Linked DNA regions of Homo sapiens: regions 2, 3 and 4 are each linked to region 1. Evidence: promoter capture Hi-C in 16 types of primary human blood cells and fetal thymus (Javierre and others, 2016). All regions are on one chromosome and are shown on one strand. The core of a region is centred on a gene start or on the middle of the fragment in contact, and the rest is flanking DNA. Distances in the headings are between cores, read along the strand shown. Region 1 holds the start of APCS (amyloid P component, serum). Region 2 has its middle 61 kb from the start of OR10J1. Region 3 has its middle 11 kb from the start of DUSP23. Region 4 has its middle 28 kb from the start of DUSP23.

Evidence for each region. Contacts are between HindIII fragments. The CHiCAGO score rates a contact against its expected background, and 5 or more counts as called.
Region 2: a contact is called between a fragment that was not itself captured here and the fragment with the promoter of APCS in region 1, in 4 of 17 cell types (naive B cells, total B cells, naive CD4 T cells and 1 more). The highest score is 6.9, in naive B cells.
Region 3: a fragment that was not itself captured here is called in contact with the fragment with the promoter of APCS in region 1 in 1 of 17 cell types (M2 macrophages); the score reaches 6.0 in M2 macrophages.
Region 4: a contact is called between a fragment that was not itself captured here and the fragment with the promoter of APCS in region 1, in 2 of 17 cell types (M2 macrophages and neutrophils). The highest score is 5.5, in M2 macrophages.

Annotation. Positions count from the first base shown.
Region 1 is chr1:159,586,530-159,589,145 of GRCh38, reverse strand. APCS (amyloid P component, serum) reads right to left here and starts at 1,320. Exons shown (of 2, transcript NM_001639.4): 1 at 1,161-1,320; 2 at 281-1,045. The coding sequence starts at 1,224. The coding sequence ends at 438. The HindIII fragment of the contact is 2,624 bases long and covers 1-1,899 here.
Region 2 is chr1:159,377,343-159,379,958 of GRCh38, reverse strand. No RefSeq gene overlaps it. Among named protein-coding and RNA genes, the nearest start is that of OR10J1, 61 kb to the left of the region's middle. The HindIII fragment of the contact is 185 bases long and covers 1,234-1,418 here.
Region 3 is chr1:159,768,621-159,771,236 of GRCh38, reverse strand. No RefSeq gene overlaps it. Among named protein-coding and RNA genes, the nearest start is that of DUSP23, 11 kb to the left of the region's middle. RefSeq lists an enhancer at 1,701-2,616. The HindIII fragment of the contact is 5,272 bases long and covers 1-2,616 here.
Region 4 is chr1:159,751,816-159,754,431 of GRCh38, reverse strand. No RefSeq gene overlaps it. Among named protein-coding and RNA genes, the nearest start is that of DUSP23, 28 kb to the left of the region's middle. The HindIII fragment of the contact is 7,347 bases long and covers 1-2,616 here.

The sequences.
Region 1 (2,616 bases), core at 71-2,570:
ACAAATAGGAGAATTGTGATTACAATTCCACACATATTTTGAATCGTCATTAAAATGATTGTTAGTAGCTTTTAAGTATTGCCACTGTTGTGCTCATTGAGTGCTCTGGCTTTGTGATATATCTTTCTAGTTACTTACAGGTTTTCCTCCCCGTACTTGGCAATTGGAGTTTTCAGGATAATGAAACACCAATTACCAATGAAACACCAATTAGTAGATAGATAAGTAGTAGACATAAGATAAAGATATGGGACTATGACAAGCACTAAACAAATGCAGGTAGCATAATACAATATATATTTTTTTAATTAGGCAGACATACAGATAGGAAATTCAAAGAAGAAAGAGCTGCAGATGTAAGATCTAGTATCCAGTTGCTTTGACCAGATCTCTTAGACAGTCATTTCATTTTCAAGTGCTCTCGTTGAGTCAAGACCTCAGACCCACACCAAGGGTTTGATGATGACATATCCTCTGATTTCATAGTTCAGAGCCTGCCAGTCCAGGATATTGGCAGGGAGAGGGGTACCCTGATAGGCAGACAGGATATTTTCTGGGGGCAGCACAGAGTCCCACATGTACAAATCCCCAATCTCTCCCACAAAGGACTGGCTCCTATCAAACTTGCCCCCATAGGAATCCTGTTCCTGCCCCAGGACAATCTTGGGCTGAGCTTCTACAAAGTAACCCTGTCGCAGACCCTTTTTCACCAAAGGTGTCCCATTGATCCAAAATTCAGCAATACCTGATGAGGACTCCCAGCTCACACAGATGTGCACTGGAGCCGGGAACTTTTCGATAACTTTGGATGTAACTTTGTGTCTTCCAATGTATAGACTATACTCTCCAACTCTTTCTTTATAAACTAGTAGCTCATTATCCCTGCCTTGGGTATTGTAGGAGAAGAGGCTGTAGGCACGAGAGAGATCACTATAGGCTCGAAAACACAAGGTAAAGTTCTGTAGAGGCTTCTCCAGCGGTGTGATCAAGTTTACATGATCAGTAACAGATTCTCTAGGAAATACAAACACCTTCCCACTGAGGTCTGCGGGATAAAGAAAGAAAGATAATGACCTTCAGTATAAATGCAGGGAAAAGATATCTCAGCTTCAACCTATTTTCTCACTTTATGATTCTTGACCATTCCTTCACCTCCTTACCTGTGTGAGCAAAGGCTTCCAGGAGGCTGGTGAGGACAGAGATCCAAAGCAGCGGCTTGTTCATATTCCTGGCCTAGGGCTGTTATAGCAGAAGCAGTGACCAGGATGAGGGTAGCAGACAACACAGTGGCTGTCCCCCTAGCGTCTGATATTCATGCCCTTAGACTTCAGGTTATTCAGGGTTTATATGCACCTTGGGTGAGGATGGGGGAGGAAGAGCACCAATAATATGTGAGTGATTTTCCAGGTCTGCCTCCTGGCGCTTACGGTGAAGGAGTGGTGAGCCCTGAGCTGGAAAATCAATGGGAGTTATTTATTAGAGACAAGTGATGGCTAGAGCTCCAACTCCTGTGACCCAGATTTTATTGCTGGGAAGAGAGTCATTGCAGGGCAGCAGGGTTATGGATGGGATGAGGCGCTGGGCTGGCCATGTCAGCAGAGCCTCTCTCTGCTCTCTGGGCCCCCTCTCTGATGGCTCTGTGCTCTGCCAGAAGCTCCTGAGCCACACAGAGTGTATCGCTGAGCTCAGCCCTCTTGTGGGCTATGGGAACAAGGCCTTTTCTTTCTTTTATAGTTCTCAAGTTGTCTTGTATTTGTAGGATATTCTAGGATTCTGCTTTCTGCTGAAGACCCTAAAAAGTGCCTTCAACTTTGACTAATTCAACATCAAGTAATACATCCAGGCAAAGCTAAGGGGAAAGAGGGACTTGGAGAATAAACTTTCTGTCCCCATGAAGCTTAGTATTTTTCTGCTACTTCTACTCAGTGCTTTTTTTTCGTTTGCATATCATGGTGCTTCCTTATCCTAGATCTTTCCATTTCTCATTACGACTTGTTTTCTGGTTACTTCATGCTACCTGCAGAGATGTCAGCATCTCCCCAAGTTTTTCTCTCCTCTTCTTTGAGTCCTTGGTCATTGAGTGTATATCTAATCCATCTTTGGTGATGACCCCACTAATACATTTATTCACTAGCTCTCAGTTACTACACTAGGTGCTGGGGATTCAGTGGTCACTGGCTCTCTCACAGCCCCAGAGATCTCCACCTTCATTCTTTCTATGTCTCCTTCATTCTCTCTCTGTACAGTTTATTAACCACCACTCAAACCTTCTCTGCCTCTGAGATATCAAACTGAAGTTCTTCTTTCTAGCCACATTATTTCTTTCTCTCTCATCCCTGAATTATATGGTGTCTTGTTTCTCATCCTACTGTTTAGCCTCTTGTTCACTCTCTCTTCTGTTAGCTCACCACAGACCTAATCAGCCTTTTCAATGACACAATCACTGCCACCAAGAATACACTTTCTCTATCATTGTTCAAAGTATCCTTCCTATTCTCATCCCTGGGGAGTTTCCATTCTCTACTTTTTTTCTCTAAATGGAATCCCAGGTTGTGAAGCCTTATCTGGCTTGTTGCACAGTATAGGTTAGTGATAAAGTTGGGATTATGCATCTAT
Region 2 (2,616 bases), core at 77-2,576, 210 kb after region 1:
TCATTATTATTATATCTGCTATGGTGATCTTTGATAAGTGATCTTTGATGTTACTATTATAATTGTTTTGTTTGAACCTATATAAGACAGCAAACTTAATTGATAAATGTTGTGTGTGTTCTGACTGCTCCACTGACTGGCCATTTTCCCATCTTTCTGCTTCTCCTCAGGCTTCCCTATTCACTAAGACATAACAATATTGAAAATTGATGAATTAGTAACCCTACAGTCAACTTTACGTGTTTAAGTGAAAGAGTTGAGTGTGTTTCACTTTAAATCAAAATCTAGAAATAATTAAGCTTAGTGAGGAAGCCTGGTCAAAAGCTGAGATAGGCCAAAATCTAGGCCTCTTGTGCCAAATGGTTAGCCAAGATGTGCATGCAAAGAAAAAAATTCTTGAGGGAAATTAAATTTGCTACATCAGTTAACACACAAATAAGAAAGTGAAAATGCCTTATTACCGATATGAAGAAACTTTTAGAAGTCAGTATAGGAGAGCAAACCAGTCACAACATTCCTTTAAGCTACAGCCTAATTAAGAGCAAGACCCTAAGTCTGTTTAATTCTATGAAGGCTAAGAGAGGTGAAGAGACTGCAGAAGAAGATATTAAGCTAGCAGAATTTCGTTTATAAAATTTAAGGAAATAAATTGTCTCCATAACATAAAAGTTCACGGTAATTCAGGAGTGCTGATGCAAAAATTAGAGCAAATGATCCAGAAAATATAGCTAAGATAATTGATGAAGATGGCTACATTAAACAACATATTTTAAAAATAGCCTTCCATTGGAAGACAGTGCTGTCTAGGACTTCCATAGCTACAGAGGAGAAGCCAATGCTTGGCTTCAAAGCTTCAAGGGACAACTGACTCTCTTGCTAGGGGATGAATGCAGCTGTTGACTTTAAGTTGAAGCCAATGGTTATTTACCACTTTGAAAATTCTAACACCCTTAAGAATTATGCTAAATCTACTCTGCCTATGCTCTATAAATGGAAGAACAAAGCCTGAATTACAACACATCTGTTTAAACCATGGTTTGCTGAATATGGTAAGTCTGTCTTAAGATCTACTGCTCAGGAAAAAAAAAAAGATATCTTTCAAAATATTGACAATGCACCTAGTCACCCAAGAGTTCTGGTGTAGTCATGGTAGGAGAATAATGTTTTCATGCCTGTTAACACAATATTCATTCTTCAGCCCATCTATCAAGAAGTGATTTTGACTTTCAAGCTTTATTATTCAAAAATACATTTCATAAGGTAATAGCTGCCATAGATAATGATTCCTCTGATGGATCTGGGTGAGGCAAATTGAAAACCTTCTGAAAAGAAATTGCCATTCTATATGTCATTATGAACATTCATTATTTATGAGAAAAGGTCACAATATTAGCATTAACAGGAGTTTAGAGGAAGCTTATTTCAATTCTCATGGTGTAGATGTGGTGGAAATAGGAAGAAAACTAGAATTAGAAGTGGAGTTCGAATATATAACTGAATTGCTGCCTTCTCATAATCAAACTTTAACAAATGAGGAGTTGCTTCTTATGGATAAGCAAATAAAGTAGTTTCTTGAGATAGAATCTCCTCCTAGTGAAGAGGTTGTGAACATTATTAAAACAACAACAAATGATTTAAAATATTCCCTAAAACTTAGTTGTTAAACAAATGGCAGGGTTTGAGAGAATTAACTTCCAATTTGAAAGACATTCTATTGTAGGTCAAGTGATATCAAACAGCATTGCCTGCTACAGAGAAATCTTTTGTGAGTCAATTAAGCCTGGACGAGGTGATTCACACCTGTAATCCCAGCACTTTGGGAGGTGGAGGCAGGAAGATAGCTTATAGCCAGAAGTTCAAGACCAGCCAGGGCGATGTAATGAGACCCCATTTCTACAAATAAATAAATAAAATTGGCCAGGTGTGGTGTCTCACACCAGTAGTCCCAGTTTTTTAAGAGGCTGAGGTGGGAGGATCTCTTGAGCTCAGAACTTTAAAGCTATAGTGATCTATGATCACAGCACTGTACTCCAGCTTGGATGACAGAGCAAGACCTTGTCTCTAAAAAAAAATCAATTGATGTGGTAATCTTTATTGTTGTCTCATTTTAATAAATTGGTACAGCAAACCCAATCTTCAGCAACCACCACTCTGCTCAGTAACAGCCATCAACATTGAGGCAAAATGTTCTACTAGCACAAAGATTCGCTGAAGTTTCAGATGATTGTTAGCATTTTTTAAAACAGTAATGTATTTTAAAATTGAAGTCTATACATTGTCTTTAAGACATAATCCTATTACACACTTAATAAACTACAGTATAGTTTAACATAACTTTTATATTCATTGAGAAGCCAAAAATTTGTGTGACTCACTTTATTGTGATATTTGCTTTACTGCAGTGGTCTGAAATCAAACCCACAATATCTCTGAGATACGTGGCTACCATGGGGATTACATTTAATGCCCTAAAGTTATAACACTCTAATTTGAATCTATGTCAGCTTAATTTCAATAACATACAAATCTCTGCTCCTTTAACAGTTCCATTTTCAAATCTTTTGTCTGTTGATGTCATGAAATTTTATCTTTATACACTGTGTATCCAAAACAATA
Region 3 (2,616 bases), core at 31-2,530, 180 kb before region 1:
CCCTTTGGTCAGAAAACATATTTGATTCACAAGAATATGGAAAAATGGTGAGAAAATGTTTTTTAATGGTTAGCTTTGCTCTATAGTCTTTTGGCTTTCCAAAACTATAATAGTTTCAGCCTTTCTGGTCCTTGTGTTTCTAAAACTTTCTACCTCTTTAATTCAATTAAACAAACATGCCAATTAAGTCCAAGTGAACAAAATATTGGGCTATATACTTGACTAAAGATGCAGATAAAAGCATGAAACTTACATTTTGGTTTTGGAGCAGATTGTTATAGCAATGACCTGAATGGATTACACCTCCTAGTATCCACACCCTTATACATGCCTCTCCTACATTTGTACTGGACTCAGCCTTGTACTTGCTTTGGCTAACGTGATATAAACAAATGTGGGCCAGACGCGGTGGCTCATGCCTGTAATTTCAGCACTTTGGGAGGCCAAGGCAGGTGGATCACTTGAGATCAGGAGTTTGAGACTAGCCTGACCAACATGGTGAAACCCCATCTCTACTAAAAATACAAAATTAGCCGGGCGTGATGGCACATGCCTGTAATCCCAGCTACTTGGGAGGCTGAGGCAGGAGAATTGCTTGAAACCGGGAGGCAGAGGTTGCAGTGAGCCAAGACTGTACCACTGCTCTCCAGCCTGGGCAACAAGAGTGAAACTCCATCTCAAAAAATAAAATAAAATAAAATAAAATAAAATAAAATAAAATAAAATAAAATAAAATGAAATAAAATAAAACAAATGTGATAGAAGCAGAGGTATGATAAGCACTTGCATGTTGGGTCTTGTCATCTTGGAACCCTAAGACCTTTATGCTATAAAGAAGCCCTGAATTATATACCGTATGGTAGGAGAGGCCAGTTGAGCCCAGTCCCCAAGCTGGATGCAGCTGCATGAATGATCCTAGGTATGACCAGTAGAAGAGTGACCCAGCTAACTCACAGAATCATGAGAAATAGAAATTGCTGTTAAGCCACTAAATTTTGGGGTCATTTACTTCATAGGAATGGAAAACTGATCTATATCTATATCTATATCTATCTCTCTCTATATATGTGTGTGTGTATATATATATATATATATGGTCATTTACTTCATAGGAATGGAAAACTGATTTTATATATATATATATATATATATATATATATATATATATATATATATATATATATATTTTTTTTTTTTTTTTTTTTTTTTGAGATGGAGTCTTGCTGTGGCCCAGGCTGAGATAGTGGCGCGATCCCAGCTCACTGCAACCTCCACTCTCCAGATTCAAGTGATTATCCGATTATCCTGCCTCAGCCTCCTGAGTAGCTGGGATTACAGGCGTCTGCCACCATGACTGGCTAATTTTTGTATTTTTATTAGAGACAGGGTTTTGTCATGTTGGCCAGGCTGGTCTCGAACTCCTGATCTCAGGTGATCCGCCTGCCTCGGCCTCCCAAAGTTCTGGGATTACAGTCGTGAGCCAACGTGCCCGGCCAGATATAAAAATTTATACCCAGAAATGGTATGTTGCTGTAACAAAAAGCTAAACTATGTGGCATTGGCTTTGGGGTTGAGTGGCTGGAAGAGGCAGTAGGTGCAGCGAGTAGATTATTAGTGGAGCCTGAGGACCTGAGAGGAAACTGCTACTGGAGGCTGATAAAGGGCAAATCACATTATATAGTAGTAGAATAACTGGCAACACTGTCATCTTCAGAAACTTGGAAGATAAAAAATGTACTTAATTAACTTGTAGATTTGGCTTAAGGAAGTTTCCATTTAGAATGCTGAAGGGGCCAATTAGCTTTTTAAAGGTGATAGATAATAGGGTATAGGAAGAGAGAGATGAACCAAAAAAAAAAAAAAATGAATTGCTCCATTTGCAAGCAGAATTTAAAGCAAATATGGAGTGCCCAGGATACGCTAGGTGAGAAATAAAACTGTCTCACATTTCCAGTCTCTCCTACTGCCAAAAGATTCTCAAAGTTAGAAATGTTCTCAGGGTACAAATTAAATCAAGGGTGTGGCTACAAGACTTTCTTAAGACCACAGAATGATTTAAAATAGTGACTATTAGATTCTCTCAGCTAGGCAAAGTGGCTTTTAAGAATTTTAAGGGCATTTTTTCCACGGCACATTGACATACTGAACCAAAGTAGAGGCCTATCTCAAAAATAGTTGTGGGTATAGCTTTTGTCTAGTCAAGTGGACTATCACCTGGCATATAGAAAGCCCACATAGAAAGGTATTGGATTAGTTTAGACTAACTAATGTACAGGAAGTTCAAAATAAATAGAAACAGGAGGTAAGATGAGAAAATCACTCAGCTGCACACACAGGCTATTTTTATTGAAAACATGGGTCATCTTGGAGAAAGCAGAGGCAACCACTTCCAGAGAGTAGAAGTAGGTAAACCAGGCTGTATTCAAGAACCGTTTTCTATACCTAGAGTAGAAGGTCCTGCAATATACTTATGTGAAGGGGTGGGTTGCCCCTCCACACCTGTGGGTGTTTCTCGTAAGGTGGAATGAGAGACTTGGAAAAGAAAAAGACACAGAGACAAAGTATAGAGAAAGAAATAAGGGGACCCGGGGAACCAGCGTTCAGCATATGGAGGAT
Region 4 (2,616 bases), core at 51-2,550, 170 kb before region 1:
ACAACTATAATTCAAGTTGTATGCTTAAGTAATTTTTTTTTTTAAAGAGAGATGTTTTGTTTTTAACCCTTATTCCTCCAACACGCCGGCGCAGAGTTCTAGAGGCACTTTTGTATTAATTAGTTCTTTCCTTCAAATTCAAATACCTTTACAATAGCTAAGGATATTTATCATTTAAATTCAGAGTTTGATACACTTGCTTCCTCTTAGCATCTGTGATATGCTGTCCAAATTGAAAAAAAAAAGCATTATTTTTTTCTTTGTTTCACTTGGAAGGCTTTAGGAAATGGGAAAGTCTGAGCACTGTGCCTCCCAGGAAGGATTTGGATCACCGTTGGGCAGTATGAATTTTTTTGGGTTTGGGAACCAGAAGGGAAAGGGTGCCAGGAGGTGGAAAAATGGTACTGACAGGGATGTGGCTGTTCTTGGCCAGTGAGCCCTGAAATCCTGATGTGACATAGGTGGCTAATTACTGCACTGTGTAGAGGTATCATGATGCGTCTTTCAGCATGATTCCAGACACAGCGCCTCTCTCATTTGACTCCACTCTTTTAACATGGATCCCCGGCTTCTACCTGCACAACCTCGCATGGTCACATCTCCCACAGAAATGAAGGAAGAGCCTTCTTCCCTGAAACAGCAGGGACTTTCGTGAAGTTCATCATGATGGTGCTTTTTAATTGGCTGTCTTGGCCTTTTATTTGTTTTCTGACCCTTGGACTTGCATTGCTCCCTGGTGCCTGTGGGTTTCCTGGTTTCTAACTGCTGGCTTGATTTTTAACCTACACACTTAACCTGGACTCCTGATATGCATGTGATTTCTGACTTCTCATTTGGCTCGGAGCCTTTTTGACTTTTCCCGTTCCCAGTCCTGCCTGTAATTCTTAGACTTGTTGTATTTTTCTACCTGGCTTCCCACCTTGGCTCTGGGACTCTTTGTCAACACCAGTCTTGATCCAATAGAGAGACTCGATCTCATTGGGCAACCAGGTAAACAAGAGGACTGGTGAAGGGGTTGAGAAAGTCACATCTTCATCTAGCATTTGGCACAATTCTCATGGCCTTTCTGATCATGGAGTTGACTTTATGTAATAAGAGTTCGAAGAAGTCTTGAACAGAAAAAAATTTTGTAAACAAGAGGCAGTAATTGTTATTCTTTCCAGTTGTTGAGTTAGCTACACCTCTGTAAATTGTAACATAGAGTTTCAAATTTATATTGAATTCCTGCGGTGTCCTGAAATTGGGGTCGGTCTACCTTTCCGAAGAAGACCAGACACATTTCTGTGACACAGGATCTTTTATATAGGATTCATGGGTAATAATTTCTGCTGCTCCTTCTTTATTCCAAAAGTGAACAAAAGTCAGTTTTTCACACAGGTAAAGTTACTAAAATTGTGGTAGGTAAAGTTACTAAAGCTGTAGTAACTTTACCTGTGTGAAATCCTAACTTACTTCAATAGGATATTATTAAAGGAAGGAGAATTTCCACATTCAAGATAACTAATCCAAATCAAGATCTTCATTTGGGAAAACCAGACTCAATAATATCAGATCCTGGCATAGCTCTGGCATGTTGTCTTGCAGGTATGTTGAGAGTATACAACTATGGGTAACCTCTTGGGCAAAGGAGCTCAAGATTAATTTCTTGTCATTTTCCACAAATGTATCAATGCATCTACAAAGTAAAATGGGATGGATTCTCAAATGTCAGTTCTTTCGAACCATTGATCTTAAGAATTCAGGTTGAGTTTATGTCTAGAATTTTAACTGATCATGACAGATAAATCTATGAGTCATTGTCATCTCTTAGAAGCTCATGATGATTTTAAGGGCGTGTTGTAACCACTTCTTTAACCAAAATCAGGCAATTTCAGGTGTGGCCCATAAGTAGTTAATTCCACAATGTTGCATTTTTTATGCTCCACTTGCAGCTGATTTGTGAGCTGTAGAGTTTGGCGGGGTTGGGAGTGTTGACCTCAGGAAGGATTTGCGACAGTGCTTGGCAATCACGTGACACACCAGCTATTCCTTCCCATCATTAACTTGGCATTGACTGGACAAGCAACAGGGCACCATTCCAGGTGTGTGTTGAAATTCTCTGGTGTCCTTTGAAATCCTAAGCAACAATTTCCTCCCATTGTGCAACTCAAGAACTCTGATAAACAGTATGTTTGGCATTCTGTTCCTGGAAACGTCTCTTACAGAGGCCACCTATGGGTGTTCTAGAGTTGACTGAGGGACATCAGTGTTGGATGATGCCACAGAGGCTACCAGCTAAGTCTGTGTGGCAATAAAACACATCCTGTATAAGCAGAGACAGAGATGAGCAGGGGAAAATCCAAGCAAGATGTAGGAACAAATTAAAGGATGTATCACTCAGGCAACCAAGGTCATGGAGAGCAGAATAGAGCACCAAGAAAAGAGTTCCTGATAAACCAATGCACTAATTGGAAGTGTTTGTGGTGATGTGAAGAAGGCCTCTGGAGGCCTCCAGGGTGAGTTAAGGCAAGCAATCAACATGTCAAGGTAATTTGTTAGCAGTACTGGCTTTGGGTTAAGGTGTATAAACCTGCCTGTTGTGATGTATGAAGCCTGCTAACCGGAGGAAACTTGGCC